Regions from separate parts of the Homo sapiens genome. Here all the other regions are linked to region 6. The links are contacts of gene promoters, found by promoter capture Hi-C in blood cells and fetal thymus (Javierre and others, 2016). All regions are on one chromosome and are shown on one strand. Each heading gives the region's core, a stretch centred on a gene start or on the middle of the fragment in contact. The rest is flanking DNA. Distances are from core to core; before and after follow the strand shown. Region 1 has its middle 43 kb from the start of ZHX2-AS1. Region 2 overlaps LINC01151 (long intergenic non-protein coding RNA 1151). Region 3 overlaps LOC107986904 (a long non-coding RNA gene). Region 4 has its middle 35 kb from the start of LINC01151. Region 5 overlaps LOC107986904 (a long non-coding RNA gene). Region 6 holds the start of DERL1 (derlin 1). Region 7 overlaps ATAD2 (ATPase family AAA domain containing 2).

Evidence for each region. The method cuts DNA at HindIII sites, captures the fragments that hold promoters and counts their contacts. A CHiCAGO score of 5 or more calls a contact.
Region 1: a fragment that was not itself captured here is called in contact with the fragment with the promoter of DERL1 in region 6 in 17 of 17 cell types (total B cells, M2 macrophages, naive B cells and 14 more); the score reaches 12.6 in total B cells.
Region 2: a fragment that was not itself captured here is called in contact with the fragment with the promoter of DERL1 in region 6 in 11 of 17 cell types (M0 macrophages, M2 macrophages, M1 macrophages and 8 more); the score reaches 15.3 in M0 macrophages.
Region 3: a contact is called between a fragment that was not itself captured here and the fragment with the promoter of DERL1 in region 6, in 3 of 17 cell types (M1 macrophages, M0 macrophages and M2 macrophages). The highest score is 6.8, in M1 macrophages.
Region 4: a fragment that was not itself captured here is called in contact with the fragment with the promoter of DERL1 in region 6 in 4 of 17 cell types (M2 macrophages, M0 macrophages, M1 macrophages and 1 more); the score reaches 18.0 in M2 macrophages.
Region 5: a contact is called between a fragment that was not itself captured here and the fragment with the promoter of DERL1 in region 6, in 10 of 17 cell types (M2 macrophages, total B cells, M0 macrophages and 7 more). The highest score is 12.9, in M2 macrophages.
Region 7: a fragment that was not itself captured here is called in contact with the fragment with the promoter of DERL1 in region 6 in 1 of 17 cell types (monocytes); the score reaches 5.5 in monocytes.

What each region holds. Positions count from the first base shown.
Region 1 is chr8:122,736,771-122,739,728 of GRCh38, forward strand. No RefSeq gene overlaps it. Among named protein-coding and RNA genes, the nearest start is that of ZHX2-AS1, 43 kb to the right of the region's middle. The HindIII fragment of the contact is 2,242 bases long and covers 369-2,610 here.
Region 2 is chr8:122,679,860-122,683,278 of GRCh38, forward strand. The region is part of intron 2 of LINC01151 (long intergenic non-protein coding RNA 1151); the gene reads right to left. Among named protein-coding and RNA genes, the nearest start is that of LINC01151, 13 kb to the right of the region's middle. The HindIII fragment of the contact is 4,320 bases long and covers 1-3,419 here.
Region 3 is chr8:122,697,183-122,700,164 of GRCh38, forward strand. LOC107986904 (a long non-coding RNA gene) reads right to left here. Exons shown (of 3, transcript XR_001745738.3): 3 at 2,651-2,982. Among named protein-coding and RNA genes, the nearest start is that of LINC01151, 4.6 kb to the left of the region's middle. The HindIII fragment of the contact is 5,531 bases long and covers 1-2,982 here.
Region 4 is chr8:122,657,776-122,660,962 of GRCh38, forward strand. No RefSeq gene overlaps it. Among named protein-coding and RNA genes, the nearest start is that of LINC01151, 35 kb to the right of the region's middle. The HindIII fragment of the contact is 1,651 bases long and covers 469-2,119 here.
Region 5 is chr8:122,714,244-122,717,260 of GRCh38, forward strand. All of the region lies in intron 1 of LOC107986904 (a long non-coding RNA gene), which reads right to left. Among named protein-coding and RNA genes, the nearest start is that of LINC01151, 22 kb to the left of the region's middle. The HindIII fragment of the contact is 972 bases long and covers 795-1,766 here.
Region 6 is chr8:123,040,625-123,043,585 of GRCh38, forward strand. It overlaps DERL1 (derlin 1), which reads right to left and starts at 1,678. Exons shown (of 8, transcript NM_024295.6): 1 at 1,346-1,678. The coding sequence starts at 1,498. RefSeq lists an enhancer at 1,088-1,627. The HindIII fragment of the contact is 6,787 bases long and covers 1-2,961 here.
Region 7 is chr8:123,385,587-123,388,686 of GRCh38, forward strand. All of the region lies in intron 1 of ATAD2 (ATPase family AAA domain containing 2), which reads right to left. Among named protein-coding and RNA genes, the nearest start is that of ATAD2, 9.3 kb to the right of the region's middle. The HindIII fragment of the contact is 1,196 bases long and covers 1,046-2,241 here.

The DNA of each region.
Region 1 (2,958 bases), core at 240-2,739, 300 kb before region 6:
AGAAAGATCTTTATGGAACAGAACCTGACATTACACATCAAAAGCTTGAAGCAATATTTACGTGTGTGTGTAAGGCACGTGGGGTTTGTGTACAAGGATGCTTGGCTGAATCTAGAAAAGTTTTGAAGGGATACCCAACAGAATGTTACCAGTGCTCCAGGGATGGCTTGGAGAGGCAGAGAGAGTAAGGGGACTGTCACTATAGAAATCATGCATGCCTACTTTTTTTATACTTTTTTAAGTACAATTTTCTTATTTAAGAGTTTTTATTGTGTAACTTTTTATTCATCTATTTCAATGCAGGAATTTAAGTTGAAGAAAGAATTAAGCCCATGCACAAAGGCTGAGCTGACAGGGACTTGCATGAAAGCTTTGCTTTCTAACAATAAAACCTCAGTCCTGAACTCATCGTCCAGTAATAGGGTATAGTCATAATAGAGAATTCCACTCAGCTGTTAAATAACTTTCAAATGAATATTTATGGACCAAAAGAAAGGTGATAGTCATACATTATATAGAAATAAAGCAACTTTCACAAGTGAGTATAATCCAACACCATGTTTTAAATCTCCATCTACATGTAGAAATATACAGATATTATTCTTAACAATCTTGGCTGTATTATCATTGTTTATTTTACTCTAGCTTTGAATTTTCACATTTCTGCAATGAATAGAAATAAGGAGAAAGTTGATTTGACAGAGTGCCAAGAGGCGTGGCCAGGGCGCCCTCTGAAATCTCGTCAGGTGAGTGTGACACCCTGTGAATTCCTGCCACTACTCCATAAGGTAGTTTGGCTCCTGTTGTCTCTTGGGGCAATTCCTGCACAAGAAGTTTCAGCAGGAAACTGGAATGGAAAAAATGGAATATGTGGGGCCCACAAGCCCCTGCCTACCCTGCCAGTTGCCATGGAGGGAAATGATTGAGGAGGGAAAATTGTGAGAGGTCACACCTGGGCTGATTTGGAAAAGGCAGATTTTCACGTGGTTCTCGCCAATCTCCCATGTCTTCCACCTACACCTCTCAATCACCTAACAGAAGTGATTGTATGAGAATTTTCAGGGGTAGTGTTACAAATCACTCAGCCTGGTGCCAGGCACACTGGAGGGTGCAATGGGTGAATGGCCATATCAAAAGCTGGGGCTGGAAGGGGTGGTGGAATAAAAATGTTTGTGAGCATCTCCCATGAGCTACCTTTATGAGCCTTCACAACAAGAACCTGGCACATGCCTTGTGGTTACTCCCATTTTACAGATAAGAAAACTGAGGCTTAAAGAGAGTGAGGGATTGGCCCAACATCATTCAGGCAATTAGTGGCTGAGCCTAATCATGCAAACCCTAATCTCCCTGTCTTCAAACCCACTTCCTTCCCCTCCCAGGAGACTCTGCACTCGGGCTTTCTATACGGAGGAGGCACTGGGACCAGCAAAGACGTGAACCCACAACACACACAGCTTGTGGCAGTGCATAGACTTCAGCAAGGCCTCTTTAGCCCTGAAGCATGTGACACATGGGGAAACTTGAGGCCCACACCCCCTCAGAAAGAGTCCCTTTGGAAATTACATTTTTAGCCATGCGCTAACATGTACTTTAGCATGGAAGAAAAAGACTTTCTTCCATGCAAGACACATCCTGTTTATAATCCCATTTGTTCCAACAAGAATTCTGAAGAGAGGGTGGAACAGGGGCTTTGTCATTTTACAGAGAAGGAAATTGACTTGCTGTGTGACCCTGAGCTAGTCCACCTCCCCTTTCTGTATTTTTCCCCTTTCTGTATCTGAAAGGGGATTCATTTCATTCAATGAAATGAATTATTAAAATTAATTTCACCTGTTTATTTTTACTCATTTAATGTAGCTACTAGAACATTTAAAAGTATGTGTGTGTCCTTGTATTGTATTTCTATTGGACAGAGCTGTCTAGAATGCTGAAGCCTAGACGGATGTTTTCAGATACAGAAACCTGATTTTTCCCCTTTCTGTATCTCAGCATCCCTACCTATAAAACAAGGAGGTTGAACCATAGTTACCCCAAGTTCTTTTCCATTCATGAGCCCTTCAATTTGTCACCAGATAGTAAATGATGTTAAAATAAACACCTGATTTTTCACATCTTTGCCAATTTCTCTCCCTTCAGACAGAACTAATCCCATCTGCCTTGGTCTTCTCTTGGTACCCAGTTCCCACCTCTGCTCCTGAACTTACCACGTGCTCCTGCCACTGGCTCACATAGAAGCCGCTAGAAGAAAAAGGCCATGTCTTCCCCTCCAGAACTGCCCTGTCCAGTATGGACGCCACTGGTTTCTGTGACTGCCCAGCACTTAGAGTGTGGTGAGTCCAAATCGAGATGTGCTGGAAGCGTAAAATACACACTGGATTTCAAAGACTTAGGGAGAAAAAAAAAGAATGTAAAAACTCGTTAATTATGTTTACAGTGATTATACGTTGAAATGATAATATTTGGCTATGATGGATTCAATGAAATGGATTATTAAAATTAATTTCACCTGTTTATTTTTACTCATTTAATGTAGCTACTAGAACATTTAAAAGTATGTGTGTGTCCTTGTATTATATTTCTATTGGACAGAGGAGCTGTCTAGAATGCTGAAGCTTAGACGGATGTTTTCAGAGAGGTGATTTGTTAAATGTTTAAGAATGGATGAGCAGGCTCTCAAGTTCTTCCTTAGCAATTTGACTGTGGCCCTGAGTTTAAAATTATCACTATCACCATGTCTTTGTCATATTTACACCACTCTTAACATTTTGTATCAGGGAGACTAATTGCAAATTGCCATTAAAGTCAGCCAAGAAGAGAAAGACAAGCACTATGGTTAGTCCAACAAATAATTATTGAGCATATGCTATTGCCAGGCACCTCTAGAAACTTGGGATCAGGGAACAAAGTGAACATAGACCTTGTCCTTGAGGAAAGCAGGGCAGGGGTAAAAATGGCAAG
Region 2 (3,419 bases), core at 683-3,182, 360 kb before region 6:
ACTAAAAATACAAAAATTAGCTTGGCACAGTGGTGCACACCTGTAATTCCAGCTACTCGGGAGGCTGAGGCACGAGGATCATTTGAACCTGGGAGGCAGAGGTTGCAGTGAGCCAAGATCATGCCACTGAACTCCAGCCTATGTGACAGAGCGAGACTCTGTCTCAGAAAAAAAACAAAAACAAAAAACAAAACAAAACAAAACAAAAAAAGCCAATCTCAGGTATTTTATAGTGGTGTAAGAACAGCCTAACACACCTGATTCAGTCATGTTCTGCCAGAGCTCCCTCTGCACCTTCTAGAGCCTGTGTTTGACCCTCAAAAAGTAACCGGTGTAACTGAGGAACTGCCTTTTTAAAATTTTGCTTTAATTAAGGTAAATGTAAGTTTTTAAATAGACAATTCAGTTATTGAAAAAACTTTATGTTTAGAACAATGCGGAGAGATGACTCTACTGTTTCAATTGTAAATTTTATGAAATTGAAATACAGATCAAATATTTTCTATGAAAATTTAGAGTTCAGATTGAGATGTGCCATAAGTATAAAATACATACCAGATTTTGAACACTCAATATCAAAAAATGCAAAGTATCTCATTCATAATTATTTATATTGATTACATGCAGAAATGACGTTTTAGATATCTTAGCTTAAATAGAATATATTATTAAACTCAATTTCACCAGTGTCTTTTTTCTTTGTTTAATGTGGCTACTAGAAAATGTTTAATTAATGTATAGTTTACATTACATTTCTATTGGACGGCACTGTTCTAGGCCATTTCCCAGTTGTCCTTTGCATTGGGAAATGGGCCAGAAATTTTGCTGCTTCTGGCAGGCTGCCCTCCTAGAATGAACAGGATGGTATCCTCAACAGAAACTGCTCAGCTTTCTGAGGCTCGGGAGATGAAAGGAGAGAGAAAGGAGGCGCATTGGCAGGAAGAGCTGGGCCTGACTTCCTTGGAAAAGCCAGCCCTGGTGCCAGTCAGTGCCCCACCCACCCTGGGATCCCTGTGGGCCCACAATGGGCCCTCTCTTGGTAATCCAGGGATGATAAACACATGGTGCAGGCTCTCCAGGGACACATGGCTCACAGAGGGATACATGCAGAGGCAGGATGTGCAGAAGCAGCTATTATAATTCACCAGAGAAGGCCGGGAGTTCTCCAAAGTTGAGGTGGCACTGAACAAGATTGGCAGGGATTCAGACCTCTCTCCAGCTGGCCTCTGTAGTGGCTCTGCAGAGTCTAGTGGTGACTGAATCTACTGCTAAGCCAGATGCATAAACCTGGGCATCAGAACCCCTCTCTGAGCCTTGGTTTCCACCCATAAAATGAGAGGGTTTACAGCCTCTATTTTAAAATGCGGTAACTCAACACAACTGCCTTTTTCTCTACGTAGCATTGGCAGAGTCATGGGGCTCCAATCAGGCCCAAGGCCAGGCCTTTATTTTTCTCCTAGAGAGCTCACTCAGAAGTTCATTTCCATGCCCCGTGCCCAAGGCCAGGTCTCCTTGAAATGCAGCCAAAAGCTCATTAAATGTACACAGAAGGGAGAGCCACTGGGACGTGAGGGCCTGCTCTGCTCAGCATGACCAGCGCCGGGTGTGTAGCTTTCTGTGACCCATCTCCTCCGGCTGCATTTTCCCCACCTCTGGGGAGCACCTCTGTTCCAGAAGGCTCTGAGTTGGAAACACACAGGATGAATTTGGGCACATGTCCTCAGTCACAAATGCCAACAGAATTGGAATATCCAGCAAAGTGCTTTCCAGCCTCCTGGTGCCCAGAGACCTGGGAAGCCAGAGAGTGGAGAGTCCAGGGTAGGAGGTAGAAAGAGCTGTGCAGTGGAAACCCAGAAACCCAGCTCCAACCCTGACTCAGCCAACCGCTAACTCAGTGCCGTGGACAAAAGAATAATATCAACGTGCTCATGTGCATGTGTGTGCATGTGTGTGCGTGTGTGTGCATGTGTGTGCGTGTGGGCATGTGTGCATATGCATGTGTGTGTGTTTGCATGTGTGTGTGCATGTGCGTGTTTGTGTGTGTGTGCGTGTATGTGTGTGTCCCCATGTGCCGGGCCCAGAAAGGAAATATCACTGTGAGTAAAGAAAGAAGCCCTTGTCCTTCTGAGGCTTCCACTCAATTATAAGACAAGATGCACAAAAGTAGTGTAGATAAAGTGCAATGGCAAAAAGTAGATGACAACTTTACCTCCAACTACAGGGACTGGGACTGATTTCCTGGCAAGGAGGCATTTGGGAGAACAAACAAGTGCGAAGTGCCCAGGAGGAGAGGCCAAGGAGGTTTAAAGGCGTGTTCTCAGAACACCAAGTTTAGTTGACGTCTACCTCCTCTCAGCAACTTTCTACAACAGTGAGTTGACTCCTCCCTATTCTCTGAGACATAAAGCTCATTCCAAACGGTTCAAGGCTTGACTGTTCATACTTATTGTTGTTGCATTTATATTACCATCAAGAGCATTTGTGATGATCTGCTACCAGGGTGCTTAGTGCGTGTCTTGTCTCTCTAATAGCACAGTCAGGGAATAGGTCCAATGCTTTCTCTTATTCCCTGCCAGCCTGCCGTGCAATCTCTGGGTTGGAAGGAACCCTGGAAATCATGCTATCCAGTTCCCCATCTTCTCTTTCCCGGAGGCCTCTGCAAGACTGACAGGCATACCGTCTGCCTCTTTATTCTGTGTTTGTGCAAAACAGTGTGTTAAAACAGGTTCTGTTTTAGTATCAGCCGAGGCTCCAAGACACCAAGAGTGACTGCACCCCATTTCTAAGGAAAAGTGAAAGACCACAAAGACTTACACAGGAGGTAGTCAGAAACGGGTTTTAGGGCCCCAATCTATCCACCACCCGAACTTTAAAGAATTTGGAGGCCGGGCGCGGTGGCTCACACCTGTAATCCCAGCACTTTGGGAGGCCCAGGCGGGTGGATCACAAGGTCAGGAGATCGAGACCATCCTGGCTAACACAGTGAAACCCTGTCTCTACTAAAAAAAAAATTACAAAAAAATTAGCCGGGCGTGGTGGCGGGTGTCTGTCGTCCCAGCTACTCGGGAGGCTGAGGCAGGAGAATGGCGTGAACCCGGGAGGCGGAGCTTGCAGGGAGCCGAGATCGCACCACTGCACTCCAGACCCGGTGACAGAGCGACACTCCTTCTGAAAAAAAAAAAAAAAAAAAAAAGAATTTGGAGCTGGGCTGGGATTAGACAAGAATTTGGGGAGATAGCTGCCAATCCTTACACTCCCCACCCTTCTGGGGAGAGGCTGTTTCTAACCACCTCAAGCCTAGGTGAAGGGGCTTCCATGAGACCTCCTGGAAGGCTTGCAGCATGTTCCCTGGATCACGGGAGACTCCATCGATTGATGTCTGGCTCACCCTGAGAAATTTAAAGGGCGAGAGATGGCGG
Region 3 (2,982 bases), core at 253-2,752, 340 kb before region 6:
GTGCACGCCTATAATCTCAGCTACTCTGGAAGCTGAGGCAGAAGAATCGCTTGAACCGGGGAGTTGAAGGTTGCAGTGAGCCAGAATCGTGCCTGGGCAACAAGAGCGAAATTTTGTCTCCAAAAAATAAATAAATAAATAAAGTATAGTATAGTATAGTATGGTATGGTATAGCATAGCATAGCATAGCATAGCATAGCATAGCATAGCATAGCATAGCATAATACTGGACAATAGAAACTTTTCTGCTCCATTATAATCTTATGAGACCACCGTCGAGATAGGCAATCCATTGTTAACTGAAATGTCATTATGCAGCACATGACTGTATTGTGCTACAATTGCTCTGTCATTCTCTCATATATTTATAGATGTTTTTTCTAATTCATTTGAAAGTCAGCTGCAAAATCCAGCCATGTTTCCCCCAACATTTCACCGTGCATCTTGAATGAATATGGACATTCTCCTAAATAAGCACACCACCATCATACCTAAGAAAGCTAACATTTATTCGGTTAAATGGTGCCATTTAATATGTGACTTACCTGTAAATTTTACCAATTGTCCCCAATATACCTTTTAAAGCTCTTTTTATTAAGTCCAAGACTGTGTCTCTAAAACATAAAAATTAGTTTAAATTTCATGTTTGCCACCATCGTTTAAAGCCACTTACACTTAATATTTGTACAATTTTGACCCTTTTGAAACCCCATGGTTGCCCCTCTTATTTGATTCTATTGAAATTTGGTGAATAAGTTTGTTTACAGGCATCTTTTCTATGCCCTTCATGAATTCATAGCATGTACTTATTTCTTCTTAGAGCTTTGGTCTCTCCATGCTGGAGTCCACCTCCTTTGAGCTCATGCTCAAATGTAGGTTCCTCTTAATAATTTAGTTTGCCTCTTTCTACGTGTCCTTTATAGGTCCTTCCTTAAGCAGTGTAATGACTAAAATTGCATACATCCCTCCAAGTGCCAACCCACATAGGTTTTATACAAGATATACAGAGCCACGCTTTTAGGATTTAGGACCAACGAATGGCTCTTTTACATGTTAACAATTTAGGAGCTATAAATTTTCTTCCAGACTTTTTCCTTGCCTTAAACTTTTTTACCAGTTGAAAGCTGCATAAAATGAACATCAAGGGCAGAACATCAAAGGAACTAAGAGGCTATGTCCAAGAACACCAGACAACAGGGAGAAGTGTTTCCCAGGTGCCCACAGCAGGCTGCAAGAGAGACCATGGAGGGCTGTGGGTGGCAGATATTTACATAATGACATCGACATATTTTAGCTGCCAGCTGTGAGCTGTCTTCATTTCTTCTTTCACTTGCTCCTCAAAGTGTGAGGTCCAGAGTGACCCCGGTTTGTTGACACCCCCCAGGGACAACTCTGAAATGAACTGCAACTTCAGATTTTGTGTCTAATGTTTCTCTGAATAATGAGCAGGATTTTCTTGGCCTGATATGAAACACACTGGGCAAATATTTTTAGCAAGACATCTATAGTGAATATTATGTCTCTTTTTGGATTGGCAACTGAGAGCTAGCATTTCGTTGTTCGATTTACTTGGATTTGTCCCCTTTTCGTGTGTTTTTACACATTTGCCTTTCATGAACTTTCTCTCTCTGTGGTTTATTTACTCAGTTGTTCACTCGTTTGATGTCACTTCTCATGTGCTTATTATGGACAGCCCTTGGGTTATGCTTTGTGGACACATCACAAACATAACTATGACATAGTCCTGGCACTCAAAAAGAGACCTGCATTCTGTTTTTGAAAGAATGCCCAGGCTGAAGCGCAGTGGCATCGTCTTGGTTCACTGCAACATCCGCCTCCTGGATTCAAGCGATTCTTCTGCCTCAGCCTCCTGAGTAGCTGGGATCACAGGCACCCAGCACCATGCCTGGCTAATGTTTGTATTTTTAGTAGAGACAGGGTTTCACCATGTTGGCCAGTCTGGTCTCAAACTCCTGACCTCAGGCAATCCGCCTACCTCGGCTTCCCAAAATGCTGGGATTACAGGCGTGAGCCACCACGCCTGGCCTGAGGCTTGCATTCTTTAAGTGGGGCACATGACCCAGCACATCGCGTACTCGTGGCTACAGTGATTGGCTCACAGATTACACATGGCCAAAAACAGTCATGTCAGAGCCCAAGAAGACTCAAGTAAGCTCCATGATGACAGGAACCTCTTCTCTCTGTCCACTTCAGTATCCCGAGCATGTAGAAGAATGTCTGGTGCATACTAGGACCTCAATAAATATTTTTGCATTAATTAATTCCATGACTTTCGTTTATGTTATTGAGAAACAGGCTACCTCTTTCCTGCTGCACCAGAGAATTCACAAACTGAAGCTGCCATCTCGCTACCAAATGGAGTCTGAGACTGGAGTCAACAGATTGCAAAGCAAGCAGAAAGGAGAGACACGTGATTGCATCATGTGAGCCCTGAATCTTGCTATGCCTGCAGCCAGGGCTGCCTTGGTCTTGTTACATGAGCCGAGTTTGCAGTTTGCTTATGCCACATTTGATCAGGTTTGTTCCTGTTTGCTGACCAAGTCCTAACTAAAAACATTAAAAGAAGTATCCTGCCTACCCTTAAATCAAAGCATTTCAACCCCTTGACAAGGGAAACACATGGCCCAGACACAGACAATCAGAGTTTAATGGGGCTGATTTTCATGATGGTTTGCTCCTGATAGGAAGGAAGAGCAGGCTCAAATAGTGGGGCTGTCCTTAGCCCAGCCTCCAGGGCTGATGGGCTGGGATGAAGTCATGTGGACCAGTAGAAAGAAAGAAAATGTGAGGCCAAAAAATAGGATCTTTGGACTTAGTTTTCTATTTAAGAGCTCCATAGGCTTGAATAAGTCAGTTGACCTCTCTGGACTTCAGTTTCCTCCAGTACAAAATTAATAACTTGGCCTAAGTGATCAGTTCTACAATGGGTGTGACTGCCTATGTCTCTCTATTGGCATGGGG
Region 4 (3,187 bases), core at 44-2,543, 380 kb before region 6:
GTGGCCCAGTCCTCAGCTACACAAAGGTGCATTAATAAATGGACTATAGCTGTGGGCAACTGGGGCTCAAGCTTCCTGGGTATCCCCCAAAAGCCTCTATAGAATACACCTCAGAAAGTTTTCATCAGGGGTAAAGAAACTGGGGTATTTATCCACCAATTGCCTGCTTTCTTTGTTTGAAGATTTCTCCCAGGAGTTAACTCCCTGGCACTTCAGATCTCTTCCCCAATCCCAATACATGGGCTGAGCATGATGTTTCCACCAGAGAACACTCTCAGGCAGCGAGACAAAGATGCCTGAGTTAGAATTCCCTTGGCCTGGATGAAAACTGTCCACCAAAGCTTCTGGTGACCTCCTTGGTGGATGAATGCTGATAACCAAAAAAAAAAAAAAAAAAAAAAAAAAAAACCTCTGTAAAATATTGAAGGAGGTTTATTCTGACCATGGCCTGGGAAACAGTCTCAAGAAAGCTTGAGAAAGTGTACCCAAGGTGACTGAATTACAGTTTAGTTTTATACATTTTAGGAAAACAGAAGTTACAGGCAAAGACATAAATCAATACATGTAAGGTATACATTGATTTAGGCTGGAAAGGCAGAACATCTCAAAGACGGGGCTTTCAGGTCATAAGTGGGAGATAGATAGATGATAGATAGATATCTCCCATATAATATACATATATCTCTCTCTGCTGTTTTTTTTCATATGGATATATGTGAAGAGAGGGAAAGATTTTTAAATCAAGTAGCAATAGGATATTACAGTCCATAAAAGGTAAAATTTGCCAGTGTATACACTCTCAAAATTTTGTCAAGATCGCCTCCTCACAAATATTAAAGGGGCACTTAACAAATATCAGTAGGGCAGCATTTCTTCTTATTTACCCAACATAAATAGCACTTGCTCTTGCTACTGAGCAATCAGCTTGTTAAAAGATTGTATCATAGCAACATTCAGCCAGAGAACTTTCCAGAGCGTTGAGACATCCTTCTGGGTGGCTACAGTTGTCCTAGCAGCAAGATGGAACAGAATAAAAACTCCCAGCTGAGTGATTAGTGTACTGGGCCTTAGAGACCCAAATCTGCCACAAACTGGATGCATGACCAAGTAGTTTGGACTATATCCATTCCTTCATTTATTTAACAGATATTTACTGAGCATCTCCTAGGTGTCCAGGCTCAGAGCCACTGTGCAGGGGACAATCTCCAAAGTCTTTTTCAAGTCTAACTGGAGACTCAGAAAGGCACATTTGTAGAGATATGGAAACATTTATCAAAATCAGCATCTCCCAACATAGCCAAACCCTTGATCCTCTTGTAAATGACCCCCTTGCACATCATCCTTCTTTGTAAAAAGATAGCAGTTGTTCTGAGTCCTCTTCTTGCCCACGGAGAAGAGTTCACAACGGAAATGGGAAAGGATGGAAGTGCGTTTGTCTGGGGCCGCTGAGTCAGCCAGACTCCTCCCAGCTCCTAGTCCAGTCTCTCCTCTCTTCTCCAGAGAGGCACGCCCTCTCTGCCACTTTGTGGGCTGTGGAAGCTGATTAGCATTTTGCACACTTCAGCAAACTGAGCTTTGGAATTTCACTTGTCCCCTCAGCAAAATATCAGGTGGAAGAGGAACAGATTTGAATGCAAAGGACAATTGCATAATTTGCGTAAGTCCCAGGACAGAAACGCCACATGACTCTGCTAGTTTGCTTCTTCTCTTTTGCCCTTTTCCCCAGCAAGCCTAGAAAAATAATCCCACAGCCTAGCAACTAATCCCACACGTGACCTTTTGGCAACTGAGGATGCTTTCTTCACATGCTGGAAAACTGCGACATAGCTCCAAATTAAAATGCCTTTTGCCTCTCATTACCATATTAAAGAGTTTGAGGTTGTGAGATGACAGTGCACTTAAATTGTCCAGGAAAAAGAAAAGGTCATTCTTTTATATTCTGTACCTGACCTACGCTTCTTCATGAGCTTCATTTCACAGAGGAGCAAGGGAAAATAATAAACTCACCAACTGAAGGCCTCTCAACCTCTTCCAGTTTAAAACAGCCTCTTTCAAGCTGAGTCGCTGAGAAGCAAACGCTCAGTTTTTCAGGGTTTTTTCATGCCTGGGTGCAAAAGAAAGCTTTTATCTTGCAGTAGCTAGAGACGAGACCTCATATGTAAGACCTCCTTCATGGAAGGCAAATCTTCCCTAGGAGGCAGCTGAGCTGGGCGGGTCTCCGGGACCCAGCACAGGTATCTTCTCTGGCACAATGAGTGCCTCCCCACCCTTTGGGGCAATAAGCTGGCACCTGCTGCTGAAAAGTGTGGTTCTTGCCCTTTCCTCCAGCTGAGATGTCTCTGTACAATCAGTACTAAGCCAGGCCTCTGCTGACCCAGCAGTTATTTCAGGCCCCACATCTTCTCTGCTGGATTCTTTTCCCACGGCTGTCATAACAAATTACCACAAACTACATGGCTGAAAACAGCAGAAATGTATTCTTTCACAGTTCTGGAGGCTAGAAGTCCAAAATCAAGGTGTTGCTAGTACCACTGTTCCTCCAAAGGCCCTGGAGAAGAATCCTTCCTGGTCACTTCCATCTTTGGATAGCTCCTGGCCTTCCCCGGCTGTGGCAGCACCACTCCAATGTCTGCCTCCATCTCCACATGGCCTTCTTCCCTGTGTCTCTGTGCCTCAAATCTCCCTCTGTCTCTCTCTCTTTTTTTTTTTTTTTCATAAAGACACTACTGCTTGGATACAGGAACCACCCTACATTCAGAATGATTTGTCTCTGTGCCTCAAATCTCCCCCTCTTTTTTTTTTTCATAAAGACATTACTCATTTGATACAGGACCCACCCTAAATTCAGAATGATTTTATTTCAAGATCCTTAATTACATCTGTAAAGACTTATTTCCAAATAAGGTCACATTCACAGTTACAAAAGATTAGGACTTGGACATATCTTGTGGAGGGCCACGAGTCAACCCAGTACACCCTCCAAGGGCCATCTGGGAACTACTAATTCCATTACCCCTCTTACCCGAAGTTTGCAGGCTGCAGAGAATCAGGAGTGCTGGTTCATCGATTGAGATGTGTCCCTCAGCTATTTCCCACCCACTGCTCAGGTGCTACGGTGAGGCTGGACTTCTCTGTACATCCTGGGAAACCTGGACAAGAGTTGTTTCTGCTCTAAGATGCATTAAAA
Region 5 (3,017 bases), core at 31-2,530, 330 kb before region 6:
ATCAAGACACCATTGATGGATACGCAGGCTGCTTCAGACTTTTTGCTATTGTAAGCAACACAGCACTCAACAAGTACTCCAGTCATCATTTCACACATGAGCAAGTAGGTCTGGAGGGCACATTGGGAGAAGTGAAACTGGTGGATTAAAGATTTGGTACTGGAAGTTTCTGAGCTGTAAAGTGGCACAATCAGGGCTGAACTTTAGGAATTCCAATCTGTCCGCACCACCCAGGGCTGAGCAGTGGGACGGGATGGCTGCTGGCAGAGAGACCAGGCTTCATGTTGTCAGACTAGTTGGGATAGAGATCATAAAGTGGAAGCACAGATAGGAAGGAACAGAGGGAAGGGATCGTCAAAATGCAGTCATCCTCTTTAGCAAGTGCTGGAAGACAGAAGTTAATTTGGTGATGAACTTGATGATACGGATGATATGTATCATGACCACACAGTGGTCATGACAGGTTTCTTGGAAGAAGTGAGACTGGAGATGGAGCATTCAGGATGAGGAGAATTTTAATAGCAAGAAAAAAGGAAGACAGCCTTTTCACTGGCATTTCATTTGGTGCTGTTGGAAGATATGGAGAAAGCTCTGTTTTGAGATAGATTATCCAACTCAAGCACATCAGGTTTAGCCAGTGCCTGTCACACAGCAAGTGCTCAAAAACAGGATGTACTATTCCTACTAACAGCAAGTAATTCCTATTAAAATTCCTTAATATATTAGAACATGACTTTTGGTGACAATTATGATTGCTCTCATTATTTCTAAACAGGTGCATGTGCCATGGGAAAAGCTTTGGCTGGGCCGTAGATTCATCACCCATCGGCCCAATCTGGAGCAGATGGTGGTTTCTCCTGCATAATGTCCTACAGCCACCATTGGTCTCTCTCCCTTACATGGGAACATTGGAGGGAATTGATGCTGTCTGGACAGAGACATCCCTAGAATTCCATTCTTGACCTACTATCACCCTTCCAGCCCTAGTACTTATCTCCATGTCACCCCAAAGCTGAGAACATGAGCTGCTTTTCTTTGGGGATGCATTAACAGAAGAGTCTTCAGAGCAAGTATCGAATGAGTCCTACTGTATTCTGGGCTGGAAAGACCTTAACTAATAAATAGTTTCCATTCTAGGTGATAAAAAATAACAACAACAAAACCTAATATCTGGATACTACATTATGATATAGCTAATCCTACTCAACCTTTGGGTGTCAGTTAAAAGTCACTTCTTCCAGGAAGTCCTCCCTGACAACCCTGAGACTGTTCACGTGCCCCAGTATGCACTTTCTTACACCCTGGAGCTCCCTTGCCATAGCAATTAACACACTGTTGTTATTCTTGCTTATGTGTCCACCTCTGCAGTGGAGAAACTCTAAGGTAACCCCCAGTAATTTTTGCCCCCTACTCTTCGTTCCTTGATATATTCCCCCCTGGAGGGTGGAGAGGACCTGTGTCTTGATTCTAACCAATAAGGTGATGGAATGTCATCCCCAGTATTATGATATGTTTGACTCCATTTCAGGAAACTGGAGCAAGAGACCCTCCTTGCTGGCTGATTGAAGTAAGTGGTCAGGTTGGAGAAGCCCATGTGGCAAGGAACTGCAGGAGGCCTCTTTGTTTCTGTGGGTGGTCTCCAGGACCTGAGGGTGGAATCCAGCCAACAGCTATCCAGAAGCTGGGACCTGCAGACATACTATGGTAGGAAAGTCAATTCTACTAACAGCCTAAATGAACATGGAAGCAGACTTTTTCCCCAGGCAAGCTTCTAGTTGAGAACTCAGCTCAGTGATACCCTGACTACAACCCTATAAGATCCTGAACAGAGAAGCCAGCTAAGCCAGACCCAGACTCCTGCCTCAGAGAAACTGTGAGACAATAGAGTATGTTGTTTTAAGCCTCTAAGTTTGTGGTCATTTGTGATGCAGCAATAGAAAACTAACACATTCCCCCACTAGATGCATGCTCTCTGAGGGTGAGACCACATCCATATTACCCCTCACTGTACTCCCAGCAGGTCACACCTTGCCTGGCACATAGTAGGTGCTCAAGAAATATTTTCTGGATGAATGATTGAATGAATGAAGCTGCATCAGTCTTACAATATTTACAATCACTCCATAAGGAGGATTATTTTAATTCAAGTTTTACTAAGACTGAGAAAAAATAAGTGACACATCCAAGAATATCCAAGATTTACATAGAAAGAGAAGAGGTGGGACCTAAACTAGCATCTCCTGGGACCAAATCCCAAGTTCATTCATTAAAATCACAGCTATAAGAACAGTGTTGGCTTTCCACCTTGACAGAGCTGATAGAAGCTTACACAAATAATTGTACCTCACTCATACCCAGAACAGACATCACTAATCAATCACAATACTCTTTTAGGTGAAGTTCATCTTCTAAACTAAACCTTCTCAACTCAGGATTTCAGTAGCCACAGCAGTTGACCACATCTGGCCAAGGAGAGGAAACCTACTCGTCATCCAAATGCTAACCTGCTAGTTAGTTAGAATCTATACCTCCATGTAACTGAATGTAGAATCCATTCCCAGCAATGTCTGGGAAAACTATGAAAGAAAGAAGAGTCTGAGCATAGAAAGGAGTAGGATTTGGGAGAAGAAGAGTCAAGAAAAGAGGTTGGGGTAGGGAAAAACAAAACAAGAAACAGTGTTTCTAGAACCTTCTCTTCAGAGGAAAGCCTCTCACCATTTTCAGGCAAGAAATTCCACTAATGATGCATGCTACAGCTGGATTCTCTTGTGGCTGAATTCCCTGAGTCAGCTGATGAATTCTTCCTTGTATAGTAATTGGCTACAGCAATTAGATTCCCTTTTTTATTATTCGTATTGCCGTGACATATTCCGACTTCTCTCTAAAAATCCAGCTGATGACCGCAACAAGAGTGCAATGGATTGAATATTTGCCATGAATGATATTTTCATTGTTTTGACAATTAAGGTGTATGTTTGCCTGAGGGACTACAGTTATGATATATTAAACATTAATCT
Region 6 (2,961 bases), core at 428-2,927:
ATCACTCTAGCTGTCTAGAGAAAAGATGGAAAGGAACCAGATTGCAGTGATAATGGCTTGCAATGGAGAATGAAAAGGGATTGTATTCTGGATATATGTCTCAAGTAGAGTCAATAGGATTTGCTGACAGATTGTGGGGTGTGAGAAAAACAAGAAAAATAAAAGATGACTCCGACAATTAACTTCAGCTCCTCTAATAACGGAGTTGCTATTCACTTCTAAGGCAAAGGGGGAAAGGGGATTCAGTTTTGGACACGTTAAGATGAAGATGACTCTTAGTCATCCAAGTCGTGATTTCAAGTAACTGCTGGATGCACAAATCTGGAAATAGGGAGACAGATCTGGACTGAAGATATTTATATTTATATTTCAGAATCTCCAGTTTATAGAAAGTATGTAAAGCCCTGAGGCTGAATGAATGAGACCACCTAAAGCTAGGGAGAGTCTATAGAAAAGGTCCTATAACTGATTCCCAAGGCACATCCTAACATTTAAAAGTCAGGAAGATAAGGAACCAGCAAAGGAAACCAAGAAGTAACACCCAGTGAAGACAGGGAAAGACAAGAAAATGTTATCCATAGGCCAAGTAAAGGGCTGAAATTAATGCCAGATCTTGCTATCTGACCTGCCACTGATTGAAGTTTTAAATCAGAAATTGGTGAATACAGATAACCTTCAGAAAACTGGCACTCTCTTGACAGAAATGTTACTCTGGACTGTTTCCTTCATGCTTAAGAAAATAACAAGGCCTTCCATTTCTGGACAAATGTACTCTTTGCCCATTCCTTCGTACATTCTATTACTACGTGGGGGACACTAAATTAGGTCTAGAGGGAAATGCAGAACAATACACTCGTTCTTTGTATCTCTGACTTTAAATCACTCCTATAGGAAAACCAAAACAAAAAAACTCCATAAACGTGAAAGGAACTCAGCTATAAGTTGGTGAAGTTGACACCTACAGGCCACCCACGTGGGTGACAGAGGGAGGTCAGAGGGCAATGCTCCAGGCGGACCTAATCGCCAGCGTCCAACAGATTGACAACTACCAACGACTAATCTCACTGCTTCCTTCACTGAGTGCGAAGAGCGGGAAGCACAATCTCACTATACCAGTGAAGTCAACCCCTCCCCACCAGGCCAGCCCACAACTCCAGCTATCCAGCACCCCGCTCCAGATCCCAGAGCCTCCCCGGGCCCAAAGGACCCCGCCCTAAACCGCCGGCGCCGGACCCACTACAAATCCCAGCAGGCACCGCGCGCCCGCAACATGCCAGCCTACGCTTAGCCGCCGCTGGGCCTCCTGGGGCCTGTAGTCTCCACGCCCCCCGTCTCCGGTAAGTACCTGAAAGCGATAAAGGAAGGCTTCGGGCCAGAGGAAGAGGTAGGCCGGGCTGATGAGGCCGAGTTTGCCGACCAAGGGCACGGCGACGGTGGCGGCGAACCAATAGCGCGTGATCGCCGGGATGCTCCTGAACCAGTCTCCGATGTCCGACATCTTCGACCCACAGGTAGCCAAGATGCACAAGACCGCCCGACTCCCCGTGCCGACCCCCTCACGACGCGGCCGGCTCCGCGACTGTTAGGTGTCTAGGTGGAAGCCGCCGAAGCCGCGATGCAGAAGGCGGAGACGGGCGGACGTGGCGCCACCGAATTCGGACCAGCGAGGCAGCCTTCTGAGGCGAAACTTCCCCTTCCGGCGACCGCGGACGACGTGACCAGAAGTCCCGCCGCTTAAAGGGTAAGCGCCGATTTTACCGCCCGGCCGAGGCTCGGCGTCCTGGGGGGCGGAGCCAGGTAGAGCGACTACACGACTGGTGGGAAAACAGTGGTTGCCTGGATCAACGGCAAACGCTCCGGCCAGTGGCGAGGCCAAATGCCATTCACCTAGTTCTCAGAGTTTTAATGCGGCTGGGTCCACCTGGAGGGTATTTAAAGGGGACGAAGGCAAACGAAGTGTCTAGTTCCTCGTCTGCTTACTCATTCCACAAGTGTTTGTTGGGCACAGTTCTAGACACTGGGCAGCTGCGGCTGTCAGCGCTGTCGTGGTACCCTCTCTCCTGATCTTAACATCCTCATTGGGATAATTTATAAACAAATAGATAATGAAGTAAGATAATCTCAGAGAGTGATTAGAAAAATAGGAAAATGAAATGAGATGATGAGGTGGAGTGACGGGGTGGGGGTGCGGCAGTGTGAGGACAGATGGCTACCTTAGGTATGAACTGGGCCAGCCAGGCAAGAGATCTGGGGGAAGAATTTTCCATGCACAGAGAAAAGCCGCTCTAACTAGGTTGGAATGTTGGAGGAACTAAAAGCCAAAATGATCCATCTTGTCTAATTCAACTTGTATAAGAAGGAATCTTTAAGAAAAGATACTGGCCAGGCGCGGTGGCTCACGCCTGTAATCCCAGCACTTTGGGAGGCCGAGGCGGGCGGATCACGAGGTCAGGAGTTCGAGACCAGCCTGGCCAACATGATGAAACCCCGTCTCTACTAAAAATACAAAAATTAGCCGGGCATGGTGGAGGGCGCCTGTAGTCCCAGCTACTTGGGAGGCTGAGGCAGGAGAATCGCTTGAACCCGGGAGGTGGAGGTTACAGCGAGCCGAGATTGCACCATTGCACTCCAGCCTGGGGGACAAGAGCCAGACTCCATCTCAAAAAAAAGAAAAAAAGAAAAGATACTGAGTAGAGTTTCCCGTTGTTTTGGGATTTGGGGCCAGCAGTTTAAGATTGCTAAAGTCTTCCAATAAAGAGCACCAGGAACAAACCTGTAGTCAACAAAGTTAGATTTATTAACTTGCTGCAGCAAGGGAGACTGCACTCCAGAGGAACCTCAATGCCTCTCATCAAACGGAAGTGTCATTATTGGGTTATGGGAATGGGGGGATTTTTTGGTAAGAATTAACTGGAGCAGTGTTTGATAGACTCGAAGCAAAGCAGAGCTGTGTGCAGCATC
Region 7 (3,100 bases), core at 394-2,893, 340 kb after region 6:
TGGATTTGGCAATGATTTCTTGGATGACACCAAAAGCACAGACAACAAAATAAAAATATGTAAGTTAGACCTCATCAAAATGAGTACCTTTTATGCATAAAGAACACTATCAACAGAGTGAAAAGGCAACCTACAGAATACGAAAAAAATCTGCAAATCATATACTGATAAGGTATATAAGGTTTTATATATACATACACACACACACATATATACACGCATACATATATATATCTCCAGAATATTTAAAGAACTCCTTTGCAAAACAAGCAAACCAATTAAAAAATAAGCAAAAGATGTGAATAGAGATTTCTCCAAAGATAGACAAATAGCCAATAAACACATGAAAAGATGCTCAACATCACTAGTCATTAGAGAAACGCAAATCAAAACCACAGAGATAACACTTCACACACATTAGGATGGCTACTCACAAAAAAAAAAAAAAAGGAGAAAATAGCAATTGTTGGTGAGGATGTAGAGAAACTGGAATCCTTGTGTGTTGCTGGTGGTAACATAAAATAGTAAGGCAATTCCTCAAAAAGTTAAACACAAAATTTCTATATGATCCAGCAATTCCACTTTTGGGTATACACTCAAAGAAGCGAATGCAGGGACTTGCACAAATATTTGTACTCATGTTCACAGCAGCATTATTCAATTCCCAAAAGGGGAAGCAACCCAAGTGTCCACTGACAGATGAACGGACAAACAAAACATGGTACATACAATGGAATATTATTCCTTCTTGTTTAAAAAAGGAAATTTTAACACATGCTACAATATGGATGAACTCTGAAGATATGCTAAGTGAAATAAGCAAGTCATAAAAGACAAATATGATTAGTCTAGGAATATGAGATTCAGAGAACAGTCACATTCAGAGACAGAAAGTAGAACAGTGGTTGCCAGGGACTAGGAGGAGAGAGGAACTGGGAGTAAGTGTTTAATGGGTACAGAGTTTCAATTCTGGAAGATGAAAAAGTTCTGGAGATGAATGGTGATGATGGTTGCAGAACAATGTGAATGTACTTAATGAACTGTAAGCTTAAAAACGGTTAAAACGGTCAATTTTATGTTATGTATATTTTGGTACATTAAAAAAGAAAATAAATGCTACCATATTCCTGAGGATAAAAAAAGATTTTGTTTCCTTACAAAACAAGAAAAGGGGTGGATGGGGACAATACTAGGAAAAAACATTTCCTAAGAAACTTGGAAGACAATCTTATAAGTGGTATAAGAGAATCTTTGATGTGCATAGTGAACGGCTTGTCATTCTCTCCAAATAAGTACTAGGCAGCAAGAAAGACTCAACAATGTGGGCAAAAAAAAAAAAAAATTATGTGGGAGTCCTCTATATAGAGTATACACTAAAAAATTTTTAAATGCATCTTTCAAAAACAGTTCTAACAAAAGCAATATAAAAATAAAGGCAATACATGCCCATTATTACTGGAAAAATGAAAATGTCACCCTTAATTTCAGCCACTCACAGACAACCTCTTTTAATCTCTTGGTGCAAAAACCATTTTTTTCCTATGCAAACATATTTACATGATTTTAAAACTGAGATAATACTATATGTTTTATAAGTTTTTTCTAGTAATATCAATATTTTTTCATGTCATTAAATATTACTCTAAAAATTTAATGAATGAATAGTATTTCAGCCATTACATGAATCTATTTAACAAATTGCTGAATGTATTATATTTAGGTTGCCTGCAATTTTTTCTGATGTTATAAATATCTCTAGATGAATTATCTTGTGTATATCTTCTTTCCTAAGGAAGACTAGCACAGGTATTAAACCGAAGTCATCTAATTCCCAAGAGGTAAGTTCAACACTGTTAACAGTAATTAACATTGGATGACAGAGATGGGGACTTTCACTTTCTATTTTTCACATTTTCACATGTATTACCAGAAAAAAATTCCTAAAAACTAAAAAACAAAGAGAAAACAAACTTAGTCTGAAATTTTAACCTAGAGATGTAATATTCTCATTTATTCTTTGGCTAAAATCTACTTAAATATTGAGAGCACTTATAGTTCTTTAAAAGTGAAGTTTTAAGAGAGGAAATGTTAGTATTTTGTTAAATTTTAAGTTTCTCACAACCTTGCAGAATCAGTAAGTTAACATAGAGAAAAAGCAGCAATAAAATAACAAAAAAGTTTTCCTAAAGTATACACAGTTGCATAATAAAAATATTCTATGTTATTTTTCACAGAAGACCAAGCTTATTCAAGCTTTAAATTCATTTTTTAAAAAGCATGTTTGGGGGGGAGGTCAGTTGTTTGAGTCAATTCAAATATCAACAAATGAGGTTGAAATAGGATGTACTCAACACAAATTTAGGGCTCCCTGAAAACTTAAACAACAGTATATTCTAATACATGATATACATGTTATATCACTATAGTTGTGATATCCTTCCTTAGTTTTGTCTTTAAACATGAGTTTAAACCACTTCACCATCTACTCGGTAAACTCCAACTTAGTTTCTACCTCCACAGCTCTTTCAGTACATTCACAACTGTCTCCCAATAGCTACATCCAATAGCCTTTTCTCTACCTCACTGAATTCTACAGAACTGATCACTACCTTCTTTATTTATTTTTAGAGATAGGATCTTGCTCCTTCACCCAGGCTGGAGTACAGTGGCACAATCATGGCTCACTGCAGCCTCAACTTCCTGAGCTCAAGAGATCCTCCTGCCTCAGCCTCCCCGGTAGTAGCTGGGGCTACAGGCATGTGCCACCACGCCTGGCTACTGATTATGTATTTTATCTTATTTTATTTTATTATTTTGAGACGGAGTCTTGCTCTGTCGCCCAGGCTGGGGTGCAGTGAGTGTAGCAGCACGATCTCAGCTCACTGCAACCTCTGCCTCCTGGGTTCAAGCGATTCTCTCTCTCAGCCTCCTGAGTAGCTGGGACTAGAGGCAGGCACCACCACACCTAGCTGGTTTTTGTAGAGACAGGGTTTCACCACATTGCCCAGGCTGGTCTTGAACTCCTCGGCTCAAGTTATCCACCTGCCTCGGCCTCCTAAACTGCTGGGATTACAGGTGTGAGCCACCATGCCCAGCCAAT